Linked DNA regions of Homo sapiens: region 1 is linked to region 2. The links are contacts of gene promoters, found by promoter capture Hi-C in blood cells and fetal thymus (Javierre and others, 2016). All regions are on one chromosome and are shown on one strand. Each heading gives the region's core, a stretch centred on a gene start or on the middle of the fragment in contact. The rest is flanking DNA. Distances are from core to core; before and after follow the strand shown. Region 1 overlaps MRTFA (myocardin related transcription factor A). Region 2 holds the start of MRTFA (myocardin related transcription factor A).

Region 1 (7,255 bases), core at 1,415-3,914, 200 kb after region 2:
TATACCATTTGGTTCAGGGCACTCTCACTGGTGTTTCTTCCTTACAAGGGTTCTGAGAGGTGGGCAGATTCTCACTCTGGAAGAAAATTAGACCCAGAAAGCAGTCAAAACCCATGTCACCCAGCAGTAATTGGTAGCACTCAGTACTAGAACACAGATCCCTTGACTGTCTATCCAGAACTTCTGTGAGGTTTCGAACCCGGTTGAGAACCAGAATTCTGGCTGTTTAGATGAAAGTTTAGAGCTCTGCCGCAGAATCCTCCTGTCCTCCTGTCACTAGTCACCTTGTGTCCGTTTCTTACAGAATACTCACTAATTCATCGAGTGAATAATTATTGAGGGTATACTGTGTGCCTGGTATTCTAGGCACTTGGGGAATGCTGTGAGTGACTAAAAAAATAGACAAAACCCTTGCTGTGCTCTGATGGGGACATGTTGTAAATGTAAACGTGGGAGACTGAGAGTAAACAAGAAAAGTATGTAGTATTCCGCCTTTTTTTTTTTTTTTTGAGACGGAGTCTTGCTCTGTCTCCCAGGCTGGAGTGCAGTGGCACTATCTTGGCGCACTGCAACCTCTGCCTCCTGAGTTCAAGTGATTCTCCTGCCTCAGTCTCCTGAGTAGCTGGGATTACAGGCACCCTCTACCATGCCTGTACAAAAATGTTTGTATTTTTAGTAGAGACGGGGTTTCACCATGTTGGCCAGGCTCGTCTCGAACTCCTTACCTCATGATCTGCCCACCTCGGCTTCCCAAAGTGCTGGGATTGCAGGCGTGAGCCACCATGCCCAGCCAGATACGTAGTATTTATATAAAGACTGTCAAGACAGTGATGAGTGCTGCGGAGAAAAATGAGGCAGAAAAGGAAGCTGGGGTGGGGTGGACAGTGTCCGTTTTCTCTTGATTCTTTGTACTTACTGTCTCATGCATGTGCTAAGCTTTCCAAGAGCCAAGGTTACGTGTGATGCATCACACCCGGGTTCCTGCAGAGCAGGACGTTTGGAGTTGAGCTAGCGTTACACAGTAGAAGCAGGTGCAGGGGGTGTCTATTTACCCACTGAAATGCCCACGACCTGCCCATGTAAGAAGTGGGGAATCCTGGATAGTGCCCAGGTAGGTTGGGGAGGTAACTTGTACTGGTTTTTCTTTGATGTTATTTGTTAAATCTAGAGCTCCCCCTTCTGTTAGAAGATGGGATCTCAGTAGTACTTTTAAGACTGTAGTTTCTTTTTTATCTTAAGATTCACAAAAAATTTTTAAAAATAAATACCACTGGGACAATTGAAGCTTTCTTCTGGGACTGCTGTTGCTGAGGCCCAGCCCCCCGCTGGGGGTGGAGAGGAAGGAGGAAGAAGCACAACGGCCCAGGCAGGATAGGGTCCTATCTATGCTCTCTTGCTACTTTTAGCAGCTCCTTAACCCTGCACTCCTACCGCAGCCAGCAGCCTAGCAAAAGTTATCTCTGCTCGCAGTTTCACAGCTCTTTGGAAATTCTAGGGCAGGAGAAGTGAAACTGACCACAGTCTTATAAATTTCTCTCTTATTGCCTCTGTTCCCTACTTGAAGTGAGTCAGGCCTTTCCCTCTCATCCTCAGAGTGTCTTAAGTTGCTATTTGTCCTTACAGCCAAGTTTTTGACAAAAGGAGTCAGACCTTCCATTCATGGTGCAGCCTTTCTGGAGGCTCTTGGTTTGGTCTTGCCACCTGAGTGTTGTTTGCAGAAGTCGAGACTTGTGGTCTTTGTGTGGTATCCCCAGAATAGAGCTGAGCCCTTCGTCTCAGCTGTCGGTTGTGTGTGTTCCTTCACATACAATTGCCATGGGGTTCTTTTAGTCCTTAGAGATGAAATTCAAGTTAATTTTAGCAGCACTATAAATAACAGGTGCAGTGAAGAAGGAAATAGTGCCGAGTGGACATATATCTTTTTGGTTTTAACTGTCCCATTGAAACAGTTTGGCCACTTTATGATTCCTCGTGAGGTTGAGGAAGTAAGGTTAATTTGGCATGCATCTGTGCCCCTTCCTGTGTGCAGGTGTCCTGAGAATAATGTGAGGCCTAGCAGGCGTTCTTGGAGTCCTAGCTGAAGGGGGATTTGCGGCTGACGGTCCAGTCATGGGCCAGGGTGTTTGTTAAAGTTACATTCCATGGGTGCACTTTATATAGCCCAAGCTTAGGCAGTGACAGTTCCCATTAGGAGTCATATTTTGGTTTCTACCAAAACTGTTTGAATGGGGTAGCTAAACCATAAAGATACATGCTTACTCAGGTGTCATTGCCTTCACTTCAACTGATATTTATAGTACTACTAACAGTAATGTGATTTTTTTTTTTTTTTTTTGGGGGACGGTTTCTCGCTCTGTTGCCCAGGCTAGAGTGCAGTGGCGCAATCTCGGCTTACTGCAAGCTCTGCCTCCCAGGTTCACGCCATTCTCCTGCCTCAGCCTCCCTTGTAGCTGGGACTTCAGGCGCCCACCACCACCACGCCTGGCTAATTTTTTGTATTTTTAGTAGAGACAGGGTTTCACCATGTTAGCCAGGATGGTCTCGATCTCCTGACCTCGTGATCTGCCTGCCTCAGCCTCCCAAAGTGTTGGGATTACAGGCGTGAGCCACCACGCCCAGCCAGTAACATGAATTTAAGATGCCTTCTCCACTGAATATCGTAGCACTAGACATGATGCTTCGCTTGAAGGTAATCTTTACGGTTCTTCTCTCAACAGCTTTGAAAAGTCCAGCCGCATTTCATGAGCAGAGAAGGAGCTTGGAGCGGGCCAGGGTAAGGTACCTTTTTTCCCCCTCAGAACTCCCAAAGAGCATTTTCAGAGCTCATTGCATTGCTGGTTATATTTCCATTTAGAGCTTTCCATAGAACTCTGAGGCCAGAGCCTGCTAGACTCTAGGGCCAGCCCTGGCCTTGTGGTTTTAAATGGAAAGCTCTGCTTCTCCTACTTCATCCCTTCTCTCATTTACCTCCCATGGTGATTATATGGAACATGATTGGAATGAGGTTTCTCTTTTTGTACATTTAAGGATATGGAATGATCACCCGATCCTCCTTGCCTGAATTTTGGAGTGCTTTGGAGACCACTGGTATTTCCCCATCTTTAATTCCACTTAACGTTTTGTAGATGTTGGGACACAAACATTAGCCAATGGAAAAGCTTCCCAAGTCCGGGGTTACACTGGCCACACCTCACAGGACGGGCATTCCAAGGGGCAGGAAACCTTCTTGGTCTCCATCTGCCCAGAGTAGGTGGTATCCACTTGACTCTTGTGGAAAGCAGAAACTGGCCCACACTCCAAGCCCAAGTTTTCTGCCACAGCACCTTACTTGCGTCCCCATCCCAACTCTGTTTCGGTTCCCCAGGGGCCCCTGAGGAATATTCTGCTGCCCAGTGTGGGTAGAGATGGGGAAGTCACCAGAACTTGCTTCCCCCTCACACTCCCTTTACTTTTTCCTTTCACATAAAATCATGGGAAGATAATCCCCCTAGACAGATCATGGGCTGCATCTCCTTAAGACCCACGGCTATTTTATTTTACTTTATTTTTTGAGACGGAGTCTCACTCTGTCACCCAGGCTGGAGTGCAGTGGCGTGATCTCAGTTCACCGCAGCCTCCGCCTACCAGATTCAAGCGATTCTCCTGCCTCAGCCTCCCAAGTAACTGGACCTACAGGCTCCCGCCACCACGCCTGGGTAATTTTTGTATTTTTAGTAGAGATGGGGTTTCACCATGTTGGCCAGCCTGGTCTCAAACTCTTGGCCTCAAGTGATCTGCCTGCCTTGCCCTTCCAAAGTCCTGGGATTACAGGCATGAGCCACCACACCCAGCCTCACAGCTATTTTAGAGTCTCAGAAATATTTACCTCCAAGACTTTTTTTTTTTTTTTTTAAACTTTCTTTCATTCCCCTCTCCCCAGAAAATCATGATTAATTCTTAGAGTAAGTGGAAAGAATGAGGTCATGGGTCCTGGGAACCAAAGGAGTAACAAGCAGCAGTGGTTTAGTTTGCTGAGAGCACTGGAGAGTACAGTGTTGGGGGAAAGGATGGCGTTGCCTGTGCGCCTATTCGGTCAGAAGACTGGGCACCATTTACTTGACTGCTTCTCAAATAGGCAGGGACCAGCAGAGCTGATTAGAAGAGACTGTTTTATTGAGCACCTTTATGTAAGAGGTTGTATCTGTTTCTTTTTTATCCTCACATCAACTCTTATGAATTAGGTGGTATTATCCTCATTTTATAGATGCAGCTAAGAGAAGTTAACTCACTTGTCCAGCCAATAAGTGGCAAAGCTGGGAGTCAAACCTTTGTGGATTCTAGATTTTTTTTGAGCAAAATGATTTTATTTCCTAACACATGGTAACCATAACGTTCAATTTGCTTACCATGCACATCTATTCACAAATGACTTCCACATTACAATAACTACTTCCATATTTACACATGTACTAAAAATTATCTTAGTTGAGATATGAAACATGAATATATTGGATTGGTTATAGCAGAATTTGCTTTACTTAATTCTAAAAGCTTAAAGCTTTGAAAAGCTGCTACTTTTGCATCTCATACTTCCAGATGAATAAGACACAGCAATATCAGCTCGTATTCAAGAGAAGTTTCATTTCTTTTTCTGGTGTTGGAACCAGCTGCTCACATCTGTGCGTGCTACATAAGGCAGCTATACATGGTGGTGGGAAAGCATCCACAATGGCTTCAGCTATGTCAGGATCACACTTGAGGGGCTCTGAGATGCTGTTGTATTTACACAACTGATTGCTTTGTTTTCCTTTTTTTGTAATTTTAGAGGTGGGATTTTGCTATGTTGCCCAGGCTGAATCCCAACTCTTGGGCTTAAGCAATCCTTCTGCCTTTGACCTCCTGAATAGCTGGGATGTGTAGGCATCTACCACTGTACCTTGTCAAACTGATTTTGTTCCCTCAGTTTTCTTCGACACAAATGTGCTTCAGTGGTCATGAATGCCTTTAATGATATCAGTTGCAAAATCCGTATCTTTAAATTTGGCCCTGAAAGTTCTCTGGTTTTCCATCAGAGACCTTATACCCTCTAAACCAGTCCAGAGTAGCCTCTAGGTAGTCAGGTTTCAGCCATTTGACATCATTAATATGTTTACTATTTGTCACAAAGGATACAACTCAGGAACAGCCAGGTGGAAGAGATGTGTAGGTATGTGGGAAGGGATGAGGAGCTTTTGTGCTCTCTCCAGGTGGGTGTGTCACCCTCCTAGCACCTCCATGCCTTTAACAAACCAGAAGCTCCTCCATATATTTTCTTAATCAGTACTATATTCTACCTCAGTCATGGCCACTGGTCAGAGCTTCAGATGGCTTAGAGAATAAGTCTTCCACTGTCATCTGTGAAGACTTGCGGCACCTGCTCTACCAATCTCTGCTGCAGCTGAGGCAGTACTTCTGCCCACTGCACGTGGGGTGATAGAGCCAGAGCCCACAGTCACTTTAAACCATCTCCTGGATTGCTCAGCCTCCCCTGGGCTGGCACAGAGCTGCCCAGCCAGAACAACAAGGCAGCAGATGGCTAGGTGAGGACAAGTCTTTTTTTTTTTTTCTTTTTCTTCATTTTTTTCCAGTCTTTACCTTTACTATATATAATGTCCTCTGAGGCTTCATTGCCTAGTGTCCTTTGGCTTGTCTTATCCTATGCTGGTCTTGATCCACTAATGTTCTGTGGTTTGAAAATGTTGGTGCAGAGGTTAAGAGCACAGACTCTATAGAGTCAGGTCCAGGGGAATATATATATATTATAATTAGCCCCGTTTGGTGGGATGGCTCTGTGACTGTTGAGGGACTGGTTTAGTTTGCCCAGAGTCTCATAAATGCAGAAATTAGGACATTGGACTTTGAGGAACTAGAGCTTTGCTACCATGTGTCAAAATTCATATTCCATTTGGCAGCCATTCAAAATGAATGGAAAATGCCCATGAGATCATGCAGTGTTACAGGTTTTTGGGGTTTTTTTTTGGTTTTTGGTTTTTTTTGTTTGTTTTTTGAGACGGAGTTTCGCTCTTGTTGCCCAGGCTGGAGTGCAGTGGCGCAGTCTTGGCTCACTGCAGCCTCCACCTCACGAGTTCAAGTGATTCTCCTGCTTCAGCCTCCCAAGTAGCTGGGATTACAGGCGCCAGCCACCACATCTGGCTAATTTTTGTATTTTTAGTAGAGACAGGGTTTCACCACATTGGCCAGGCTGGTCTCAAACTCCTGACCTCAGGTGATCCACCCACCTTGGCCTCCCAAAGTGCTGGGATTACAGGCTTGAGCCACCGTGCCTGGCCCAATGTTACATTTCTTAAAGCAGGATATAAAATCATATTCAGTGTGATTACAGCGCTGCAAAGTTAAGCCTATTTTCTGCATGGAAGAATAACTAGAAACAGATATCCCAGAATACTAAGAGTGGCTGATTAAAGTTTATTTTATTTTATTTTTCTTTCTAGTTTTCTAAATGTTTTTTGCTGGACATATATTACTTTTATGGTAGTAGAAGTAATAGTTTTTTAATAGATATATTGTCAGTCCAGCCTCAGAGACACAGATGGTCTTGAAGGATGGTGCCCTTCCTTGGCAGGTGCAGTTGGATTTTGGTGTGCTCTCCCCAGGCCTACTCTTGCCTCCGAACCCTGCAGTCACCAAGTTAAGGTTGTGGGAACTGCAGAGGTGGTCAGCAGCTACCATGGCCAAGGCTGCTGTTGTGATCCTGTCCATGCCATAAGCCTGTGACCTGGATTTGAGAGTTTCTTGGTGTGTTTTTTCTGTAGACAGAGGACTATCTCAAACGGAAGATTCGTTCCCGGCCGGAGAGATCGGAGCTGGTCAGGATGCACATTTTGGAAGGTGTGGAGATTGGAATTGCTTTTCCATCTAGATCCAGTTCTCACTGTGTGTACTCACTACTGCACTACCCATTTCCTTCCTGCCTCTTTCTTCTCCCATTTCTGTTGGCAGTGGGTAAGCCAGAGCCTTAACACCGTACGACAGCTGTGCCATGGTAGCTGCCACTGGTCTGAGGGACTCTCAAAAAGCACAGTCACATGCTGTTAGTTTGGCTTGGCCTCTTCTCCAGGGTCTCACCATCCCTTGGTGTGAGATCGCTTCTCTCTGCCAAAATCTGTTTTGTTTTGTTTAAGACACAGTCTGACTCTGTCATTGTGATTGTAGGCACAAGCCACCATGCCTGATCTAAAATCTGTTTTTAAAATACACTTACTTAGTTTTTTATATT
Region 2 (6,444 bases), core at 643-3,142:
GTCTCCTGACCTCGTGATCCGCCCGCCTCGACCTCCCAAAGTGCTGGGATTATAGGCGTGAGCCACCGCACCCGGCCTGCATCCTGTTTTAGTCACCTGGGATACCGGCCTGGCATTGCAGTCACCGCAGTACGTGCCTTAGCATCCTCCAGTTTGGTGTAAGCACCCCCAGGGTAGTGACTGTATCTCATCTAGCTTACCCCCTCAGTGTTCTTACTCAAAAAATATTTATCGAATAAATAATTTTATCAGGTATTTTGTGCAAGAATTTTTGCCTTGGGGAAGGTGTGTGTGACTAAGAGCCCACGAGGATCCCGTCTAACTCCAAGATTCTGCGACCGGCATTGGAAGCTGATTTATAGTGAGTAATTGGGAATACCCAAGGCCACTTTGACTTTTGCCGCCATTGGATAGAGCAGCACCCTCTCCTACCCTCCCTCTGAGTTCACCCATGGGCAGTCCCAGAAGCCTTTGATGGGGAAAAGGGGGTCATAGTGAGAATTTACCTTGGAATGTAAAGTGAGCCGCCCCTTTTCAGTCTTTGCATCTTCACGCGGGTCCGCCCCAAACCTAGAAGAACGCCCCTGACCACTTCTTCTTCTATCTACTGTTACTCCTTCCTCTGACTCTGGTGACCCCATCCCGGAAGCCTTCCGGAAAGCGCTTCCCCCTTTTCCACCCCATCGAGTTGGGGTTATTTCTCCTTTTCTGGGCTCTCTCCCATTGCTGGGGAGGAAGGCGGATACGAAGGGCCTGCATGACCGCAGCTGTCATCACAGTGGGCCTGGCTTACCTTGTTGCTCTCTCCCCTTTCGCCTTTCTCCTTTCTCCCTGTTGCAGTCATGGACTTCACTCATAATACATATACATATACATATACATATACATATACATATACATATACACATACACATACACATACACATACACATACACATACACATACATATACATGTTTTTAAATCGGGCAGCCACCCGCTCCCCGCCCTCAGCCCGGAATAGGTTCAGAGAGGTGCCCGGGTTCACTTGCGGAGCGTGTGGCCTCTGCGCCTAACGCGCGCCCCTTCACTACACGAATGGGTGCGGGCAAGGGTATAGGATTTTAGAATTCCAAGAGTTGTCGGGGGTCATCCCGTGGAATCCTCTTTTTTGCAGATGCTCTTCCTGGAGCCTTCCGATGCAAGCTCTTGGGCTCACGCAGCCCTTTTCCTCTTCTAAGCCCAGAGCGCTTTCGCTGCTGCTGATCTCCACGGCCTCGGCAGATAGGGAGGGGCAGGCAGGTGTCAGCGTCCTCCCTTTCACCGTTGGGGAAACTGACTCAGAGAAACAAGGCGACGGGCCTCGGCGGGGCGGGACCGTAACGGGAATTCAAGGCTCCAGGCCAGAGCGGAATTTATTGTGTCTCGTTTTGGGAAGCGTGAATGTGAAATGATCGACTTCGGAGCCCCAGGCGGAGACCCTTCAGTCCCCGACAAGAATCGGGATGGGGTCTGGGATTAATGCAGTAATTACTCGCGCCTGGGCATTGACCCCTTGGCAACTTCGCAAGATCCGGCAGGGTCCACCGCCCTTCCCTTCACAGGGTGACCACAGGGCTGCGGCCTCTTTAAGGCCCAGAGCTCCGCCCCCGGCTCGTCGCCAACCCCCTCGCCGCAGCTCAGCCAGTTCCAGACTTTCCTCAGAGATGAGGTCATCTCCCCGTTGCCCATTGGCTGCGCCGTGCCGTCAGTCACAGGAAGTCAGGCCGCCGTTTTCGCCTTCTTCATGCCGCTTCCTTCTCCGCCCGCCCTTTAGTCCGCCGATCACGACCCCGATCAGGCCTCTGATTGGCTAGCGCCGCCGTCACTTCTCCAGCGGACAGTCTTCAGGACGGGAGGCGGGCGTGGTGGGCGGGCCCGCAGCTTCCGTGGCTGAGAGGAGCCGGCGGCGGCAGTGTCTGTGGTGGCCGCGGCGGCGAGAGCGACGGTCCCATCTTTCCCACCCTCTTGGTTGCCGCTGGCCACACGCCCTCCGCTGGCGGCGACTTCTCAGCTCCGTGCGCCCGGGCTGGACAGTGAGCCTCGAGAGGAGACGCGGGCGGCTAGAGCCGGAGTGGGGCGAGCCGCGGAACCCGGCCGGGAGCCGCGCGAGGCGGTGAGTGAGAGTCCGGGTTGGGGACCCCTCCCCCACCGCGGCCTCGCCCCGCCTGGAGCATCCTTTTTCCCCCCCGACCCTGCTGCGCGCGTCCTCGGGGGGTCGGGCGAGGCGGCCCTCGCGTCCCCTGCCCTCTTCTTGCCGGCCTTCTGCCCCTGCCCTCGGGGCCGGAGTCGCAGAGCGGCGGTCACTGTGCCGGGGCTGGGACCCGGGCCGGGCCGGGCGGGCGGGCGCGGTCGTGCACCTGTGCACTGCCTGGCAGGGCTGTGCTGCGCGGGGCGGGGAGGCACGGAGGTCCTCGCCCTCGCTTCTCCCGGGATGTGTTTTGATTGCAGGGACGGGGTGTCGGCCGCTTTCTCTGGGGTCTTGTGCAGACCTTCAGGATCCAAGTGCAGTCCTTGGGATTCCCAGGCAAGGAGGCTCAGCTGGACTTGTTGGTGCCAGTATAGCAAACCTGAATGCTGCCAGGTGTACAGGGCTCTGCAAATCTGAAACTTGATGGCCAAGAACTTTACCTCCTAAGAAAGCGTCTGTCAGGACGCTGATGCAGTCCACCCTCCCCGCTTCGGGTACCTTTGATACTCCATAGTGCCTAGGGCTGGACCTTTTGAGTCGACTCCCAAACCTGCCACTTGCTAGCTGTGTAATCTTGTGCCTTGGTTTCCTCGTCTGAAAAATGAGGATAATAGCACCAATCGCATACGGTTGTTTGTTGTAAGTGTCGAATGAAATAATTCACGTGAAGCGTTTGACACAGTGCTTGGCCCATAGTAAGGGCCCAAGAAATGTTTGCTTTTGGGATGTTGAGAATGCCTGGTTTGCCTGTGTGCCTTTAAGCACTAGCCCAGCTTGGCATTGTCAAGATTTCTCTCTGTTGTCTCCCTGTTATGCAGCATAACGAAAGGGCAGTTGAATGGTTAACTTGCTTGCCAGCCTCTGTTTGGCATGAAGTGTGTGTATATACAGGAATGTGGAATACATCACTTAAATATAATAATGGAATTACCCCATGCTTCGTATGTTTTTACATAGTTTTAAACTCATAAGACGTCTGGAATGTCCCCGAGTTGCAAGTTTTTGAGATCTTTTCAGGGTCCTTTCTACATCAAGCCGAAGCCTGTAACGTTAAGACTTATTGTCAGTAAGAAGTTAGACCTACATGTTTTACTTCAGAAGACCCCCAAAACTCCAAATGTCACTTACGCAGTTTTACTGTTGAAAAGCAGTCATCTCCCGGGGGTGAGGTGGTACAGCCAGCTGGCCCACAGCCCTATGACTGCAGGGTGGGGAACCTTTGGCTGGAAGTTATTAAACTAAGTTTTGCTTAATGTCGTTTGCATTTTTCATAGCGAACCAAAGGGCTTTATGTTACTGTTTCTTATTGAAATGATTTAGAAAGAAGCAATCCATTACTGCGTTCTTTAAAAACACCTGCAAAGAAAAAAATATCTGTAGTTTAGCTCTAGTGTTTGTTTCAGTTTTTGGCCAATAACTATTAAGAAGAGCCCGTTTTTAAGAAGGCTTCCAAAAGTCACATCCACTTGAATAAGTTATTTAGAGTCAAATCAAGAGAGGTGGAAGAGTAATATGTATCCCATCACCCAAAAGTATTTATTGGAGAGTTTCCATGTCCTTAGTACTCTGCCAGATGCTATTAGGGAGTGATTAAAAAGAGTATGAAATAGAATCTCAGCCTATAAAGGGCAAAACCATAAAGTTTGGGTCACCCGTTAGTAATTACAAGTACTACTTAAGGGATGACTTCATTTATTCATTCAACAGACTTTTTGTTCCATGTTTGTAACGTGCCAGGTGTTTTTCTAAGGGCTGGGGCTGTCAAGATAAGTGAGATATGGTCCCTGCTCATGAGGAGCTCACAGTCTAGTGGGAGAGGCAAAAAATGACAGATGATTGTAACGCGCTGAAATACACTCTAAATCCAGACTTCACTGGGAGAGTCAAGGGAGCTTTTCCTGTGGATGTATGGGAAGGCTTCAAAGAAAATGGCATTTGAGCTGAATGTTAACTCAGATGAAGGAGAGGAAATTCCAAAGAGAAATAACAGCTTGGAAAGTTTTCCTGATAGGCGGGGCACAGTGGCTTACGCCTGTAATCCTAGCACTTCGGGAGGCCAAGGCAGGAGGATCACTTGAGGCCAGGAGTTCGAGTTGAGACCCGCTTGGGCAACATAATGATAGCTTGTCTCCACAAAAAAGTTAAAGAATTAGCAGACGTGGTGGCTTGCACCTGTAGTCCCAGCTACTCAGGAGGCTGAGGCTGGAGGATCCCTTGAGCCCAGGAGTTTGAGGTGGCAGTAAGCTATGTTCACACTGCCCTCCATCCTGAATGTGCGGTGAGACCCTGTCTCAAAAAAAAAAAAAAATCCTGATAAATCTTCTGATATACCAGTTATAAGCCCCAGGAAGGGAGAAGGAAACTAACATTCCTTGATGCCCACTACATAAAAGCTAGGCTTTGATTGTGTTGCTTTAGGATAGGGAAATAGGCTGCAACTAGTTAAATAACTCATTTAGGGATACAGAAGTTAACAGAACCAGGACTTGAATCTCTGACTTAAAAGTATGGTATACGGTTCCTTTTAACATGCTTTTGTAGAGGTAAATATGAAAGAGGTTAGAAAGTTCTACCCATATTATCATTATTATCATTTTACTACATCTATTGCAAGTTACTTTCTGTGAAATGTTTCATATTTGATTTAGTCACTAAGGCGATATAATAAATAAAGCTTATCTTTATAAGCTTTATATATGGCAATATAATAAATAAAGGCTATCTTTATTTATATATTTTATACTTATAAATTTGGTGATATTTCCTAAAAAGTATGGCCTGTGGGAACATTCAGTAAAAATGGAGTACATTGATATATACAGATTCCATATGAAGCACTTTACTAACTTTGTTAAACAGGTATAAACTTTCTTTGAGAGTGCAGCTTAAATACTTATTTAAGTGTATTTAAAAAACGATTTGTAGATTTACAGCCATTTAATTTACAAAGGGAAATTTAGAATTTTTAAGTTGTATTAACAAAGATCGTTGTATTATATTTCGAGAAAACACTGTGGCAAGCTCATATACTACTGTAAGCTCCCCAGGGGTGAGGATATTTGTTTTTCTTCCCAGCTTCAAAGGCAGTTCTTGGGACATAGCAGGTGCTCAGTAAATATTTCTTGAATATAAGATGAACATGAACAAATATATATTTACTCCGTGTTCTTGTGTGTGTATATATATTCACATAAATGCTAGGGTTGATAGTTGCAATTGACAAACATAAGAAACATTTCTTTACTGAGAAAAAGCTTTGGTCAGGAGGTTATATTTCAGGTTTTTGAAAGAGAAAAGAGAAAACATTGATGGGTTATGGATGAAGTGGTATAGGCTTGGGGAGTAGTTTTTTATAAATGAATACATTTTGGAAGAAGGGGGACATTGAACAAAGAGAATGACCCACTGACACAATTCAGCAAATATGGGCGCTGTTTATGTCTAAGGCTTTAATAGAGTTTTGAGAATCAAGGAAATAGTCTCCGCTCTCAAGGAAATTAGAGTTTTGGAGAGCGGGTGTGTTAACTGTCTTCCTGTGTAACAGATTACCTCGAAAGTTAGTGTTTAAGACAACATTTCTTATTTTTCACAGTTTCTGTGAGTCAGGAATTTGGAATCAGCTTGGCTGAGTGATTCAAACTCAGGTCTCTCAAAAAATTGCAATAATGGCTGGGCACGGTGGCTCACACATGTATTCTCAGCATTTTGGGAGGCTGAGGCAGGTGGATCCCTTGAGGTCAGGAGATCGAGACCAGCCTGGCCAACATGGGGAAACCCCGTCGCTACTAAAAATACAAAAATTAGGTAGGTTTGGTGATGCACGCCTGTAGTCCCAGCTACTCAGGAGGCTAAGGCATGAGAATCACTTGAACCTGGGAGGCGGAGGTTGCAGTGAGCCAAGATTGCACCACTGCACTCCAGCCTGGGCGGCAGAGTATCTAAAAAAAAAAAATTATCTGGGAGTGGCAGCCCATGCCTGTAATCCCAGCTACTCAGGAGGCTGAGGCATAAGAATTGCTTGAACCAGGGAGGTGGAGGTTGCAGTGAGCTGAGATCGTGCCACTGCACTCCAGCCTGGGTGACAGAGCAAAACTGTCTCAAAAAAAAAAAATTGCAGTAATATGTCAGCTGAGGTAGCAGTCATCTGAAGGCTTGACTGAGGCTGGTGAATCCTTTTTCAAGGTGGCTACTCATATTGCTGGCAGGTTGGTGCAGGCTGTTGGTGGGAGATCTCAA

Evidence for each region. Contacts are between HindIII fragments. The CHiCAGO score rates a contact against its expected background, and 5 or more counts as called.
Region 1: a contact is called between a fragment that was not itself captured here and the fragment with the promoter of MRTFA in region 2, in 13 of 17 cell types (endothelial precursors, total CD8 T cells, total CD4 T cells and 10 more). The highest score is 8.6, in endothelial precursors.

What each region holds. Positions count from the first base shown.
Region 1 is chr22:40,431,017-40,438,271 of GRCh38, reverse strand. It overlaps MRTFA (myocardin related transcription factor A), which reads left to right. Exons shown (of 15, transcript NM_020831.6): 5 at 2,718-2,773; 6 at 6,792-6,867. Among named protein-coding and RNA genes, the nearest start is that of SGSM3, 64 kb to the right of the region's middle. RefSeq lists enhancers at 1,242-1,291, 1,362-1,411, 1,532-1,661, 1,922-1,981. The HindIII fragment of the contact is 992 bases long and covers 2,169-3,160 here.
Region 2 is chr22:40,632,167-40,638,610 of GRCh38, reverse strand. It overlaps MRTFA (myocardin related transcription factor A), which reads left to right and starts at 1,892. Exons shown (of 15, transcript NM_020831.6): 1 at 1,892-2,133. RefSeq lists enhancers at 1-818, 1,558-1,867 and a silencer at 2,128-2,437. The HindIII fragment of the contact is 6,464 bases long and covers 1-4,884 here.